5 separate regions of the Homo sapiens genome follow, and all the other regions are linked to region 1. Evidence: promoter capture Hi-C in 16 types of primary human blood cells and fetal thymus (Javierre and others, 2016). All regions are on one chromosome and are shown on one strand. Each heading gives the region's core, a stretch centred on a gene start or on the middle of the fragment in contact. The rest is flanking DNA. Distances are from core to core; before and after follow the strand shown.

The links. The method cuts DNA at HindIII sites, captures the fragments that hold promoters and counts their contacts. A CHiCAGO score of 5 or more calls a contact.
Region 2: a contact is called between a fragment that was not itself captured here and the fragment with the promoter of NCR3LG1 in region 1, in 1 of 17 cell types (M2 macrophages). The highest score is 5.7, in M2 macrophages.
Region 3: a fragment that was not itself captured here is called in contact with the fragment with the promoter of NCR3LG1 in region 1 in 1 of 17 cell types (naive CD4 T cells); the score reaches 5.3 in naive CD4 T cells.
Region 4: a contact is called between a fragment that was not itself captured here and the fragment with the promoter of NCR3LG1 in region 1, in 1 of 17 cell types (naive CD8 T cells). The highest score is 5.6, in naive CD8 T cells.
Region 5: a fragment that was not itself captured here is called in contact with the fragment with the promoter of NCR3LG1 in region 1 in 1 of 17 cell types (total CD8 T cells); the score reaches 6.8 in total CD8 T cells.

The regions. Positions count from the first base shown.
Region 1 is chr11:17,350,510-17,353,227 of GRCh38, forward strand. It overlaps NCR3LG1 (natural killer cell cytotoxicity receptor 3 ligand 1), which reads left to right and starts at 1,291. Exons shown (of 5, transcript NM_001202439.3): 1 at 1,291-1,530. The coding sequence starts at 1,461. LOC105376576 (a long non-coding RNA gene) reads right to left here and starts at 1,357. Exons shown (of 3, transcript XR_931094.3): 1 at 1,270-1,357; 2 at 528-665; 3 at 304-402. RefSeq lists a silencer at 1,113-1,232 and enhancers at 1,229-1,830, 1,831-2,432, 2,657-2,706. The HindIII fragment of the contact is 2,891 bases long and covers 468-2,718 here.
Region 2 is chr11:17,512,642-17,515,561 of GRCh38, forward strand. The region is part of intron 15 of USH1C (USH1 protein network component harmonin); the gene reads right to left. Among named protein-coding and RNA genes, the nearest start is that of USH1C, 30 kb to the right of the region's middle. The HindIII fragment of the contact is 3,309 bases long and covers 1-2,920 here.
Region 3 is chr11:17,119,141-17,121,840 of GRCh38, forward strand. It overlaps PIK3C2A (phosphatidylinositol-4-phosphate 3-kinase catalytic subunit type 2 alpha), which reads right to left. Exons shown (of 33, transcript NM_002645.4): 16 at 646-834; 17 at 80-173. Among named protein-coding and RNA genes, the nearest start is that of RPS13, 43 kb to the left of the region's middle. The HindIII fragment of the contact is 199 bases long and covers 1,296-1,494 here.
Region 4 is chr11:17,171,682-17,174,540 of GRCh38, forward strand. The region is part of intron 1 of PIK3C2A (phosphatidylinositol-4-phosphate 3-kinase catalytic subunit type 2 alpha); the gene reads right to left. Among named protein-coding and RNA genes, the nearest start is that of PIK3C2A, 35 kb to the right of the region's middle. The HindIII fragment of the contact is 502 bases long and covers 1,190-1,691 here.
Region 5 is chr11:17,153,476-17,156,175 of GRCh38, forward strand. PIK3C2A (phosphatidylinositol-4-phosphate 3-kinase catalytic subunit type 2 alpha) reads right to left here. Exons shown (of 33, transcript NM_002645.4): 3 at 2,051-2,154. Among named protein-coding and RNA genes, the nearest start is that of PIK3C2A, 53 kb to the right of the region's middle. The HindIII fragment of the contact is 1,044 bases long and covers 735-1,778 here.

The DNA of each region.
Region 1 (2,718 bases), core at 41-2,540:
GAGTAAAAAGGGTACAAAAAAATTACCAAAACAGTAAAAATTACCAAAAGAGTAATTTGATAATTTCTACAGGGTGATGTGTATGTGTCACAACTTTGTGAATCACTATTCTGGGCATGTATAAGAAGTCGTCATATACCTCCATTGGGAATGTTATTTAATGATGTCACTAATACCAGACAAGGATGTCTCCTCAGGTAAGGCTCCTTGGAGGAGGCAGAGGTTGAGAAGAGGTGTAATTTAGGTTTTAAAAATTCAATAGCTGGACTTAACCTTGCATATCTCTACCTGTTATAACGGTGGTCCGGAAGGCTGCGATCTGAAGGCCCCTCAGCTAGTTGCTGCCACTGTGGGCACTCTGCGCATCTTTCACTTCTGAGCTCTTTCTGTATGCACTCTGTTCTGCAGATAAGTGAGAATGTGACTATTTGCTTAGTCAGTGACAGTGTCTCTAACCCTGGAAAGGAAGCTTTTACTCTCTCAGTTTTAGAGACATGTGAACAGGCTGGGGATATGAGGTCACTTACCCACTGTCTTATAATCAGCAGATGGCATGGTTGGCATTGGAGTTTAGGTCTGTCTGTGCTTTTCTGTACATTACATCCTTTTTAATGATGCGAAGGAAAAATGCAGTAGGGTCAATGAGACAAATGGAATGCAGGTTGCTGGGGAAAGAATGCAGGTTCTGCGTTATAAATGCACACACATTTACTGTGCCACTTGGGTTCTGAACTTTGCGGTTAAATTGATTTAAAAACTGGTGTAGAGGTGGTAAAACTTAATCACCGAATGAGAATATTTGGGTTTGCTTCAGGAGGTCGCAAGCCACTTCTTGATTAGTAGAAATGGGAAATTAAGGGCCACCTTCAGGCGTTTAACTGAATTGTCCTGGGGATTTAATTTGCCTTTCGACTTAATGCTAAATTTTTGTTGTTTTTGGTTTTTAAAGTAATGTAAGTTTATCGCGCCAACGGTAAGATGTCGCTCTGGACGCGTGCACCTGCTCTCGCAATCACCGACTGCGGTCAGCATCTTCCTTAGAGCAGCGCCCCGGGCCACTTGGATCCCGGTCTCAATTTACTAAGCGAACCCAGAGGATGCCCCGAGTCCTGGACCGCAGAGCCGCTCGCGAGAGGCACCGGGGCTGTAACCGCGCAACCTCGTGCCGCGGGCGGAGGCGAGGGAGGATTCCCCGGCCGGTGCCCGCCCCCGGGCTAAAGTGCGGCGCGGGTGGGGCTGGTCACGCGCCTGGCTTCCTGCAGTGCGAACCTGGGAAATCCAGGCGACTTCGCAGTTGCCGAAGGGATCTGAAGAAGTGGGATGTGCAAAAGCGCCGGCTGGAAATCCCGGCTGTGTCTCCGTCAACTCTTTACGCAACAGAGGTCTCCCCCTGCCCTTGGTTTCTACCGGGCCGCCTGCTCCCACTCGGCGAAAAAAATTACACAACAGCAGCCGCGGCGATGACGTGGAGGGCTGCCGCCTCCACGTGCGCGGCGCTCCTGATTCTGCTGTGGGCGCTGACGACCGAAGGTAGGGGGCGGCTGGGGTGGGCTGGGGCGGGGGCTCCTGGCGCCAGAGGGTCCTCGCGGGTCGGCTCCCTAGCATCCCGCCAGGGGACCTCAACTTCCTGGGGGCTGAGAGCTCTATTTTCTTTTCTATTTCTTCTCCTTTTTTTTTTTTTTTTTTTTTGAGACGGAGTCTCGCTCTGTCTCCCAGGCTGGAGTGAAGTGGCGCGATCTCGGCTCACTGCAAGCTCCGCCTCCCAGGTTCACGCCATTCTCCTGCCTCAGACTCCCGAGTAGCTGGGACCACAGGCGCCCGCCACCATGCCCGGCTAATTTTTTGTACTTTTAGTAGAGACGGGGTTTCACAGTGTTAGCCAAGATGGTCTCCTTGACCTAGTGATCCAGCCGCCTCGGCCTCCCAAAGTGCGGGGATTACAGGCGTGAGCCCCCGCGCCCGGCCTGGGGGCTCTATTTTCAAGCGTCCCTCCTTTGTGAGAAGCGGAGTCCCCGATGCAACAGGTTTACATTGAAGGCCTGCCCTGTGCAGGGTCGACACCTGTGAGAGCGGAAACGGTGCTTCCTTGGATGTCGCGCGTTTGGTGCCTCGGTATTTGGCGCCTCTCTCGCATCATCCGAGGGGCCGGAGGAGAGAAGAAAATCAGGGAATCGGTAAATTGGAAAAATCATTCATCCGCATATCAGTGGGTCCTCCTGGCTTTGCTAAGTTAGGTCTTTACTGAGAGAGGGAGGGGAGTGTTTTGATCTTGTGGTGACCTTCAAACGTTCTCTTGCTTTTTTGGGAACTCGTATGGGCGTGTTCTGCGTTAACTTAAACAGGAGACTAAAAGGCTGAAACGCGTATGTAGAGATATTTAAACTCATTTCTAACTAGAAGAATGGCAATTAAACAACAAGATGCTGCTTGACCCTTACTAGGCTGGCCAAAATACGCTCCTGGGTGCCGGGTGGTGGAGGTGGAATGTAGGAATCCCGGAGGCGCGCTCTGGGCGCCCCGAGTCACTGCAGGTGGAGGAGAGCCGCGTGTGGACCTCACCGTGGAGACCTTGGCGGCAGCTTCACACCACGCCCTTGCTGCTTGCCGAGCAGCGTGAACGGATGTTGAAGGCGTAGAGCCAAGTAAACAGTGGACATACAATGCAATACCATTTCCACAGTTTGAGAAACAGAAGATACAGCCTTAAAGAGAACAAAA
Region 2 (2,920 bases), core at 359-2,858, 160 kb after region 1:
CACACTGAGACCTGGGGGCTCAGACCCAGGGACATCAGATTTTACCCGCATGCTTAAGCTCTGGACCATTTCACCCTGGAGAGTCTAGACCCACAGTTTCCTCTGAATTGTGCCCCTCTACCGAGGGCTAGCTGGAAACTGCAGGACTGGGAGGCAGGGCATGGAGAGAATGGCTTAACTGCTTTACACTCACCATCAGGGTTCTAGAGGATTTGGGGAGGGACATGAAAGGCAAATAGACTCCTTATTTTTCCTGTAGGAATTAGACCCACCGAGCCTGCATTCCTGGCTGCTTCTCTCATGGGGTTGCAGGGAAGCCAGGGGCTAAGGCAGGAAGAGAATGATCATTTATGAACTGCCTATGTGCCAAGGGATTTATACCAATGATCTCCTATGTAGGTTTATCCTCATTCTTTGATGAAGGAGCTGAGGCTCAGAGAGGTAAAGTCCCTTGTTCAATGTCAGACATCTTGTAACTGATAGTACCAGGATTTGGACCTGAGTCTTCGAGGTCCTAGTTTTTCTATGGTGCCCTGATGAGCTGGGGGCAAGGGAAACACGGCAGGAGGGAGGGTCAGCCCCTATCACACACAGCGTGGAGGACAGAGCGAGCATTCAGGAGAGGGGCAGCAGAGACAGCCCACACCCTGGGCAATTTCTGGGGCAAGGAGGAAACCCCCTGTTCACTGAGCTCACCCCCGCCCCCAACAAGCCTTCTGGGGATCTGCTCTTGAATTTTCTGAATCATCTTAGTATCCAAGGCCAGGAATAAGGAATTGAGCTCCCTAGCAATGGACACACAACATTCATCCACAGCTGGAGGGACTTGGTGGGCCATTATGGACCTCTGAGGGACTCTTCCTAGCTCCTCTCCTAAAGACACACACCTCTGTGTACTGCTAATGTGCTCTGGAAATGGTCACCTCTGGGACCCACCTCCAGAGCAGTGTATGAGCCTCTCGAGAAAATGGTTCTCACTGCTTCAGAGTCCTGCTTGGTTCCTTGCCTACCTTGTTCACTAGACTCAGTTGATAGATGAATCCCTGCCATCGTAGTAGAGATTCAGACAGCAATTTCCCAAGAGGAGCCAGAAACACTGCCTAATGGTAGCTTGCTAGAGTAAGAGCCTGGCCTCCTCCAGGACCACCACGAGAATAATGGCCATTCTGTTGCTTAAAAAAAGAAAGAAAGAAAGAAAAAAAAAACTACCAGTGCTAAGATTATAGAGTCAGGGCTTCTGGGTGGGGTAGTAGACAGTTTCTGTCTCATGCCCAAGAAAGTCATATCTGTACAGATGCAGAGGGCAAGTTGCCCCATGGCATTTCCCACTGATCTCAGACTGGCCCCACACAGGTTACTTAGCTGTGTGTGAATCTGCCTTCCCTGCCAGACGGTGGGCTCCTGCAAGTAGGGCTGGTCTGTGTGAGTGACTCAAGCAATTCTGATGAAAGGGCTTAGTCAGAATCATGAATCCTTCATGCCCTGGCACAAATTCTGTGGGGCCAAAGGCCTGGGAACCTTGAGCCCCAGAGGGATTTACTGCCAAGGTGGAAATAGAAGACACTGAATCTTTATATTATTATTATTATTTTCTTGAGACAGGGTCCTGCTCTGTCACCCAGGCTGGAGTGCAGTGGTGCAATCTCGGCTCACTGCAGCCTCTGCCTCTAGGGTTCAAGTGATTCTCCTGCCTCAGCCTCCCAAGTAGCTGGGATTACAGGCATGCGCCACCACACCCAGCTAATTTTTGAATTTTTAATAGAGACAGGGTTTCACCCTGTTGGCCAGGCTGGTCTTGAACTCCCAACCTCACGTGATTCGCCTGTCTTGGCCTCCCACAGTGCTGGCATTATAGACATGAGCTGAATCTTTATATTTTTAAATAAGGGGAATTTATGCACAGATATCATGGCCATGGATACCCACTTGCATTTCCTGGAGACTTGGCGTTCCAGCTGCTGGGAGACAAAGAGTCTCTCACGGCTCTAGAAAAAATGATGACGGGTTTTCAGAGCCAGTATGAGGGGCATGGTTCTGTTGTCCTTTCAGCTGTCAGTTACATCCATGGCCTGTCAGTTACAATATTCCTTTTGGTCCAGACTGAGAGGTGAGGCAGATGGGGCGATTGTGCTATTGATTCTACCCAGAAGCAATTCTTTTTTTTTTTTTTTTTTTGAAGTGAAAATGAAAACCAAAATGACAGCTGTTTCTGGAATAATTAGATTAAGGAATAGGGGAAAGGCAACCCTATTTCTTTATCAACAGCACTTTCAAGGACATGATTTCTGATGGGAGGTGGTATGTGGAGAAGATTCTAGTTCTTTTACATTTACATGTTATTAGTGCCTGAAAAAGATTTGACATATCTGTCTCCTTTATTATTTTTTTCAAGTAAAATCCTATGTGTGCATGTGTGTGTGTGCTTGTGTGTGTGTGTGTGTGTTTTGTCCTCTCTAGCTGAGTTCTAGTAGAGGCAGAATATAGAGAAGAATTAGAAATCTAACCCAATGAGGCATCCTAAGCCACCAAAGTCAGCCTGTCAAGGGAAACAGATAGTCTTATGAGACCAAGGCCTTTCTGAGACCAGGACAATGTGTGAAGGAATTCCCAGAGGAACTCTGTTCCAAGTTTATTCAATGCTATACAAATCCTGATAGATGTTCCTAGATAAAGGCATTAACCTCTGTCAGGAAAAATATTACTGTTTGTTATTTTAATAGCAATGTGCTGGAGGAAGGGGGTAGATTTTCCTGGCACAGTTAATATTCCCATTTTACAGGCAGGGAGAATTATATATCATCAAGGTCACTCAGCTGCCAGTGCTCTGGTTTCTGGGGGACTGACATCTTGCCAGAAAGCGCTGGTCAAGTGATAACATCCAATTTAGCTCACCCAGATTTATGCTGCTGCCTGACCTCCA
Region 3 (2,700 bases), core at 145-2,644, 230 kb before region 1:
AGAATGGGGATCCCTTAGCAAGTTCCCATAAAAAACTAGAGTGAAAGTATAAAGGGAGGTAATCTAGTAAAAAACTCACTTGTACAAACTGTGGAAGAAGATCTGTTAGCTCATCATCACTAATGGCCTCAATCCAGGTCACAGCTAGGGATCTTACTTCCTGATCAGCAAATCTAGAAGATTACCATAAAACCAAGATTGGACAGTGATTTCTTTCCAGTGAAGCTGTATTTTTTGAAAACACAATCTCAATCTGGTCCTGACAAAGAACACTAAGATATCTCTTTTATTCAAAAGCAATGTATTTCTTCTTTTTGTAAGAAGACAATCTTATTGTGCTATACAGATTCAATTTAGGGATTATTTAGGAATCTTAAGTTTATGAAAATTAATTCTGGCCCACATCATAAAAATATAAATTATTCAAAATTTACAACCTAACCCTTCCTTTAGGCTAGTTTTAAAGGACATGCAATGCTTTATTGACAACTTCAATGCAGAAGATATGTTTGTATAAATATACATTTACACATTTGGATTATATTGAATTGCTTTCATGTTAAAAGGAAAGGAAATACTTCTGGCAACATACCTTACTGGAAAAACTGACAATAAAACAAGAGCAAATAAATGTATTTGACTTACTTTGAATCAAGAAGTTCCAATGCAATTAGTGGGTACAATGCAGGCCACTGGTGAAGCAATGAGTAAGTTTTGGCAAGATTAACCCATTTCCAGTTTGGGGCGCTTGCTAATATTTTAGGAAGACAATTTGGGTGTTTGAAGCAATAATAACGTTTCTCCCATAAAAAAGCTTTATCTTCTTTAGAAAGTCTGCATATATAATAGAATTAAATTACTTCTCAGTGATAACATAATGATATAATCTCAATGATTAAAAATACAAAGAAGAAATTTATTTATTTGGGACAGCTACTTCTTCATAAAATCATTAATACTAATTTGGAATAGAAAAATGCAATGTATGGCAAATGCCAGTAATTAATGCTAATCCGGGAACTGAAAGGAATGATTATGTCTTGATAAAAGATGCTTAGTTAGGAAAATGAAGGATAATTCAGTATAATAAAAATTTATTGAGCTCTAACTAGATGCCAGGCACTAGAAATCAGAGTTGAAAAAGCAGATCCCACCCTAAGAGATAGCAAGGATTTCATCCATTTCGTACAAATAAAATCAAATGCTATGAAAAAAAAAATACTACTATAAAATTTTGGAACATATTTATACAGTTCAAATGAAAAGGACTTGTTTTGAAGATCCTAATTGTTTTAAGCTTAATCACAAATGTTTACGTGAATGAAATATTTCACCATTTTACTATCCATCCATATATATATAAATATATATATACATATACATGCACTGAAATTTATTCATTTCATGTGGAGTAATGAAAAAATTCAAACACTGCAAAAGGTATACAGTGAAATCTCTCTCCTTCTAATTCCCCTTCTAAGAGGCAACCACCTAAGCTTGTATGCTCTTCTAGAGAGTTTATTCATACAGAGGCACACACACGGATATATGTAGATCCTCTTTTTTCCTTTATTTTCGTGGTAATACACTATATACACTATTCTACTCCTGGTTTTCTTCAGCTAACCTATTTTAAAAATTAGTACATACAGCTATAATCTCATTTTTATTTATTTTATTTTTGTTTGAGATGGAGTCTCGCTCTGTCACCCAGGCTGGAATGCAGTGGCACGATCTTGGCTCACTGCAACCTCCGCCTCCCAGGTTCAAGCGATTCTCCTGCCTCAGCCTCCCAAGTAGCTGGGATTACAGGCATGTGCCACCATCTCAGCCTCCCAAAGTGCTGAGATTACAGGTGTGAGCCACCACGTTCAGCCTACAATCTCATTTTTAATAGTTACATGGTTCTCTACCAGATAAATGTACCTTAATTTAATCCCTATTGATGGACATTTCCAATCAATTTTTCTTTTCTTTTCTTTTCTTTTCTTTTTTGAGACAGGGTATTGCTCTGTTGCCCAGGCTGCAGTGCAGTGATGAGATCATAGATCACTGCAGCCTTGACCTCCTGGGCTCAAGCAATTCTCCCACCTCAGCCTCCTGAGTCGCTAGGACTACAGATGCACAACACTGTGCCTGGCTACTTTTAATTTTTTTGTAGAGACAGGGTCTCACTATATTGTCAGTGTTGGTCTCCAACTCCTGGGCTCAAGCAATCCTCCCACCTCAGCCTTCCAAAGTGTCAAGAGTACAGGCATGAGCCACCACGCCCAGTCTCCGAACAGTTTTTCAATAATCCAAATAAGTACTGCAATGAATATTCTTGACTCCATAAGCAAATATAAAAGAGTTTTATATAACTGCAAATGGCACTGCTGGGACAGAATATACACATTATAACCTTGTAGATTTTGCCAAATTGCTCTCCAAAGGAGACATAGCTTTTTATACTTCTGCAAATAGTATAATTCCCATTTTATGTATCCTTATCAACACTTTTCACAAGGTATTTTAATTTTTGCCACTCTGATGTGTTAGATGGTATCTTGAATTAATTTATATTTCCCTGATTACTGAGAAATTGAACATCTTTTCAGATTGTTTAAAAGTATTGTATTTTTCTAAAAAAATTGCTTGTTCCTACTTAGTCTCCTTGACTACTGAGTTCTTGGTCTTAATCTTATTAATAAGAAAAAGTTC
Region 4 (2,859 bases), core at 191-2,690, 180 kb before region 1:
TTTATATCAAAAGAAAAAGCTGTAAATATGGAACTCTTGCTACATATGCACAAAGCACTTAGAGGAAAGTACTAATGTCTACAATTTACTTTGTTGTTCTTGTCGTTTAGAGATGGGGGAGGTCTCATTATGTTACCCAGGCTGGTCTTGAACTCCTGGCCTCAAGCAAGCCTCCTGCCTCAGCTGGGATTACAGGCATGATCCACTGTGCCTGGCTCTTACAATTTACTTTGAAATGCATTTTTTTTAAAAGGTAAACTAATGGATAGCAGGATAGATGGATAAATATGTGATTAGACAGGTATAGAAAAATGTTAATAGTAGAATCTAGGTGATACAAATATGAGTATTCACTTTGAAATTCTTTTAACTTGGTTGCCAAGACTGAAAATTTTCAAAATAAAAGGCTGGATAGTAGGGAATAGGAGGAGCACAAATTCCTCCCATTTCAACACATACTCCCACTACTTGGGATGTGATTTTCTTGTTCCTCTCATAAAGAGGAGGGATCTATTTCTTTACTCTCTTGAGCTAAGCGGGCCTTATGACTTGGCTTTTACCAATGAAATGGAAGTGACACTGTGGGAATAGGAGTTCCAAATCTAGGTCCTAAGAGGCTTTACTACCTCAGTTCTTTGTCTCTTGAAATGCAGCCACTGCTATGTGAATGCTCACTGAGGATGAGAGGGGCCAGCTAACAGCCAGCACCAACCACCAAACATGTGAGTGAAGCCACCATCTTAGACCATCCATCCACACTCCAGATGACCACAACTCCATGAGTGACTGAAGGTGAGACCAGCAGAAGAAATCACCAAGCTGAGCTAAAGCCAAATTGATAACCCACAGAATCATTTTGGAATGATTCTGTTACATAGCAATAGATAACTGATAAACTTTTTCTTATTAGTTTTAGAAAACAAAGCGCAAGCCATTTTTACTATTTAGCAACAAACTTCTGTTTTAACTTCCACCACCACCTTCCTTCACTTATCCTCAGGGAACAAACGGTTTTCTTTTCCTTTCTAAGGCGACTTCCTCCATGTGTATCCTTAACCTTAGATTTCTAAACATAAATGTATTTTCCCCTCCACTTCATCATCAATGATTACCCTCCACTTCATCATCGGTGATTACCTCCTTTGCATTGTTAACTTATTTACTTGCTTAGGGTCCTGTGCCACAAAAAAGCTTAAGTCTTCTCCATATTGAAGGGGGGGAAATCTTAACATTCCCGTTTAGATTCCAGTAGCTTCCATTTTAATTTTCTTTTTTCACTGTCAAACTTCTCCAATGAGGGACCTACAGAATCTTTTCTTTACACATTCTGCCTTGGAAAAACTCTACTTGTCCTTCAGGGCCCAATTCAAATACTGTCTCCTCTCTTTAGCCTTCCCTAAGCAGCTCTTATCAGAATTCATCTTTTTAGATCAACCAAAACATTTTTATCACAGCTTTCTCTTCTTCACTTCTGTAGACCTTTTGCTGTTTTTGCCTATCAACATCTTTGCTTCTGGTTGCAGAACCTACGGCTTCCATTTTGGAGACTGATCTCCCTTTATCCCACATAGTTAATTAAAATAGAACTGGCCATTTCTACCCTTGTCCCCCATTCCCATCCACTCCAGAGGATCCAAATATGGCCCATCAGAGTTAACTCCTGGACTTCTGCTGAAACTATTTGGAAAGAAAGCTTTTCTTTGAGCTTACTAAACTCAGATATAAGCCTGGCCCTGCTGTGGCCGTCTTTGTCACCACTTGAGGAGATAATGCCTAAAAATGAATCCAATCCAGAAGAAAGCAGAGCTAAGATAAAACGAAGAAAGACAGATTCTGGCTAATATTACACTGGCATCTGGATCCAACTAAGCCCAAAGCCAACCTTTCATTTATGCAGGCCAGTAAGTCTCCCTTTTTGCTTAAGCCAGTTTAAAATGAGTTTCTGCCATAACAAAAAATGTCCTGATTAACACAGAATCTGTGAACCTATGTGTCTACCCAACAGACTAAAATAAGCTTAAGTGCAAAGGCCTACTTGTTTATTTTTGGAGTTCCCCACAACATTTAAAAGTACCTTGCTTAATGAATAAGAAACTTAATTTACTGAACACGTGGGGTTTGTTTGTTTGTTTGTTTGTTTAGACAGAGTCTCATTCTGTTGCTCAGACTGGAGTGCAGTGGCACAGTCTCGGCTCACTGCAACCTCTGCCTCCTGGGTTCAAGCGATTCTCCTGCCTCAGCCTCCCGAGTAGCTGGGATTACAGGCGCTCGCCACCACACCCGGCTAATTTTTGTATTTTTAGTAGAGACCAAAAAGTTTAGTAGAGACTAATAGCGTTTTGCCATGTTGGCCAGGCTGGTCTTGAACTCCTGACCTCAAGTGATCCACCTGCCTCGGCCTCCCAAAGTGCTGGGATTACAGGCGTGAACCACCTCACCTGGCTGAACATGTGTTTTAACAAGAGGGAGTGAGGGCTATTGGACAGTCTTAAAGAAGGCATTTCTAATGGCACAAGAGTATGGATATATGGTAGGAAAAATAAATCAAGTGTAATCACCTATTGTGGAACACCAAAGTATACTGCCTATTTTTCACAAAATTAGATGTATTAAAACAAAACAGCGGCCGGGCGCGGTGGCTCACGCCTGTAATCCCAGCACTTTGGGAGGCCGAGGCGGGCGGATCACGAGGTCAGGAGATCGAGACCATCCTGGCTAAAACGGTGAAACCCCGTCTCTACTAAAAAAAAAAATACAAAAAAATTAGCCGGGCGTAGTGGCGGGCGCCTGTAGTCCCAGCTACTTGGGAGGCTGAGGCAGGAGAATGGCGTGAACCCGGGAGGCGGAGCTTGCAGTGAG
Region 5 (2,700 bases), core at 7-2,506, 200 kb before region 1:
GTAGATATAGCAAGCTTTGTCAATTATGATAGGTGTAAAAGGAAAGAAATAGGACAAAAAACTCAGTAATAATGAAAAGTAGTCCTGAATCAATGTATTACAGAATCTTAAACTGAAAGAGATCTTTGAAATCACTAGTCCAACTCTTTAATTTCACAGATGAGAAACAACAACAAAAACCAATACCTAGAACTGGTAATAAATTCCAAGTCTGTTTTGTATTTTATCTTAACTATAAACAAATATCATTCTGACAGCCTGACACTAATTTCACAGCTGAATTTAAATGAATAAATGAATAATTTTAGGAGATCTCAAAAAGCAAAGAACTGGCTCTCTAATTAAAAGCCTACATACTTGTTTTAAAAATCCACTGCAAAATGAGCACAATGGAAAAAACAGAGCCACTAATTTCAAAGTACATCTCCTCATCTCAATCTCCATGGTCACCACAGGGGAAGTTCCTAGAACATGCCTTCAAAAACACCAGTACTTCTTACTGCTCTAGTATTTGTTGCAGTCATAGTCTACTAATGAAAATAAAATTACAAAGAGAACTCATTCTCTCTTTAGTCCATTTGCAGTTTCGTATCACATTTAAGTGTGTGCGTGTGTGTGTGTGTGTAAACAAAAACAATCATTTTCAATTAGTGGCAGAGTTTGTATAAATAGCTCTAAGATTCAAATGGGAGAAAAAAGGTAGGTCTCAGAGAGCCTAACTTCTCAACTTGCAAAGCTTAAATGTAGTAGTTACTTAACATGGCCTAACAGGAAAATACAAGGCCTGTCTGGGGAGAGTAACCTTTGCCAAGAAAAAGTGACTCTACTGATAATATTTTTTTCCTAAGGTATTCTGAAGAAAAGAAATGCTGGTTAAAAGGTAACATAAAGGAAGACAGAGTTTTAATAAAATATCACCAATGGTCCAGAAAATCTCATTAAATATTAAGTTCTTTAACATTAAAATAATGTACATACTCAAAAATGTTCTGGGAACCCCAAATCCTGCTATGCTTAAAGCAGACCACACTGAAGACAATGCTGGATTCAGAAAAAAATCTCCCAGTGGTGATCTACTTCCCTTTTTTAGATAACAGATCTCTCATCCTCTTGGCCACAAGGACTGTTGTTCCACTCTTTCCTCCTATGGGTGTTTCCTATCTGGCTAGCTAAGGGGACTCCTTTTTCTTCTCTGCTACTGAGACCATTAAATTGCATGGAGGAAAGGCAGAGGAAGAAAAGTGAGGAAGGTGAAGGAAAGGAAATGGAGTGGACAAGGAGAATTGAAGGAAGGGGGGATGATTTATAGTAATGAATTCCTGAATCTTGCTGTTAATGAACTCTATCCCATCCTTCCTCTATCTGCTATTTGGGTTGTGAACCAATACATGACCCTTTTTAAGTTCAAGATGGGTTTCTAGCACTCGTAACAGAAGTCACAACTAATATAGTGATATAATGGGAAGAAAACATGCTTAACCAGAAGCAAAAGAGAGTTGGTTCTACTACTGATATTACTGACTAGCCAAGTAAAGTTTGTTAGGTTACTTCTCTGAGTCTCAGTTTCCTCACCTATAATGAATGTTAGACACATTTAAGATTGAGAGAACATTCTATAAATGTGTTTTTCTAAACTTCAGAAAATATATTTGCTCTTCTAAACTTGCCTATTATAATATCATCTCTTAAATATGTTGAACAGTATTTTGAATGCTAGAAAGTTTACAGCAAAATTAAGTCTCTCTAAAACAAAAGTAGGTATTTTTTAAGTGTACTGAAGCTTACAGGTAAGTCATATTTTTCACTGGTTATTACAGTATCAGAAGTCTACTGTCTGACCTCAATTTTTTCTTCCAAATATTAAGAAATCTAACAGGTGAAGATACAAGTTCAACTGTGGTTTGTGATAACGTGCCAATTAACTCTTTGACTTGAAATGTTAGCCACAAGAAGAAAATAATTAAAATTTTTAAAATTTTAGAATTATTAGCACTAAACTGGTTTTCAAGTGAATTTTTCAAATGAACATTTATAAAGAAAAATTCCTTACTTTGTAATGGATCGACAAAAAGCTGCCATCTCCTCATTCTGTACTTCAACTTCTTGAAGAAGAGAACTTCCAGTTGGCAAACTACTGGTCCCATTTGGGTCTTTCTGTAATTAAAAAAGTGTTTTTATTTTAAAAGTGGAAGATCCACAAAATGCTACATAGCAGCACAGCACAAACACATTTTTATGAAAATATGTACAAAGCAATGGAGGTAAAATAAATCATATCAATAACAAATTTTTAAATTATATATTTCTATCTTTGTAAAAGTAATGTCAACTAAGCCTTATTTTCGTTCCTTGGTTTTACTTGCTCAATAGTAGAAACAGGCTATACCGGTCAGTAAGAATGGAATGCTAAAGACCTTTCCATTCAAAATATTCCTAAAATAGACACTTTAGAAATTTTACAACTAAATGAAATTAAAGGACTCTCTGTTTTAAGAATATGAAGAGATCAAGCCCATTTGGGACTCTTCTAATCAGCCAGAAATTCTATATATTCAACTAGGACCCAAATCCCAAGAAAGATGGTTTTTTATGTAAGAGAATGGGCATTTTCTAGGTTAATAAACTTATACTAACATCCTCACAATCCCTAAAAAGCTAAGTTTACGTCTGGTCAAAAACTGTTTACAGCTTTCAGGGAGA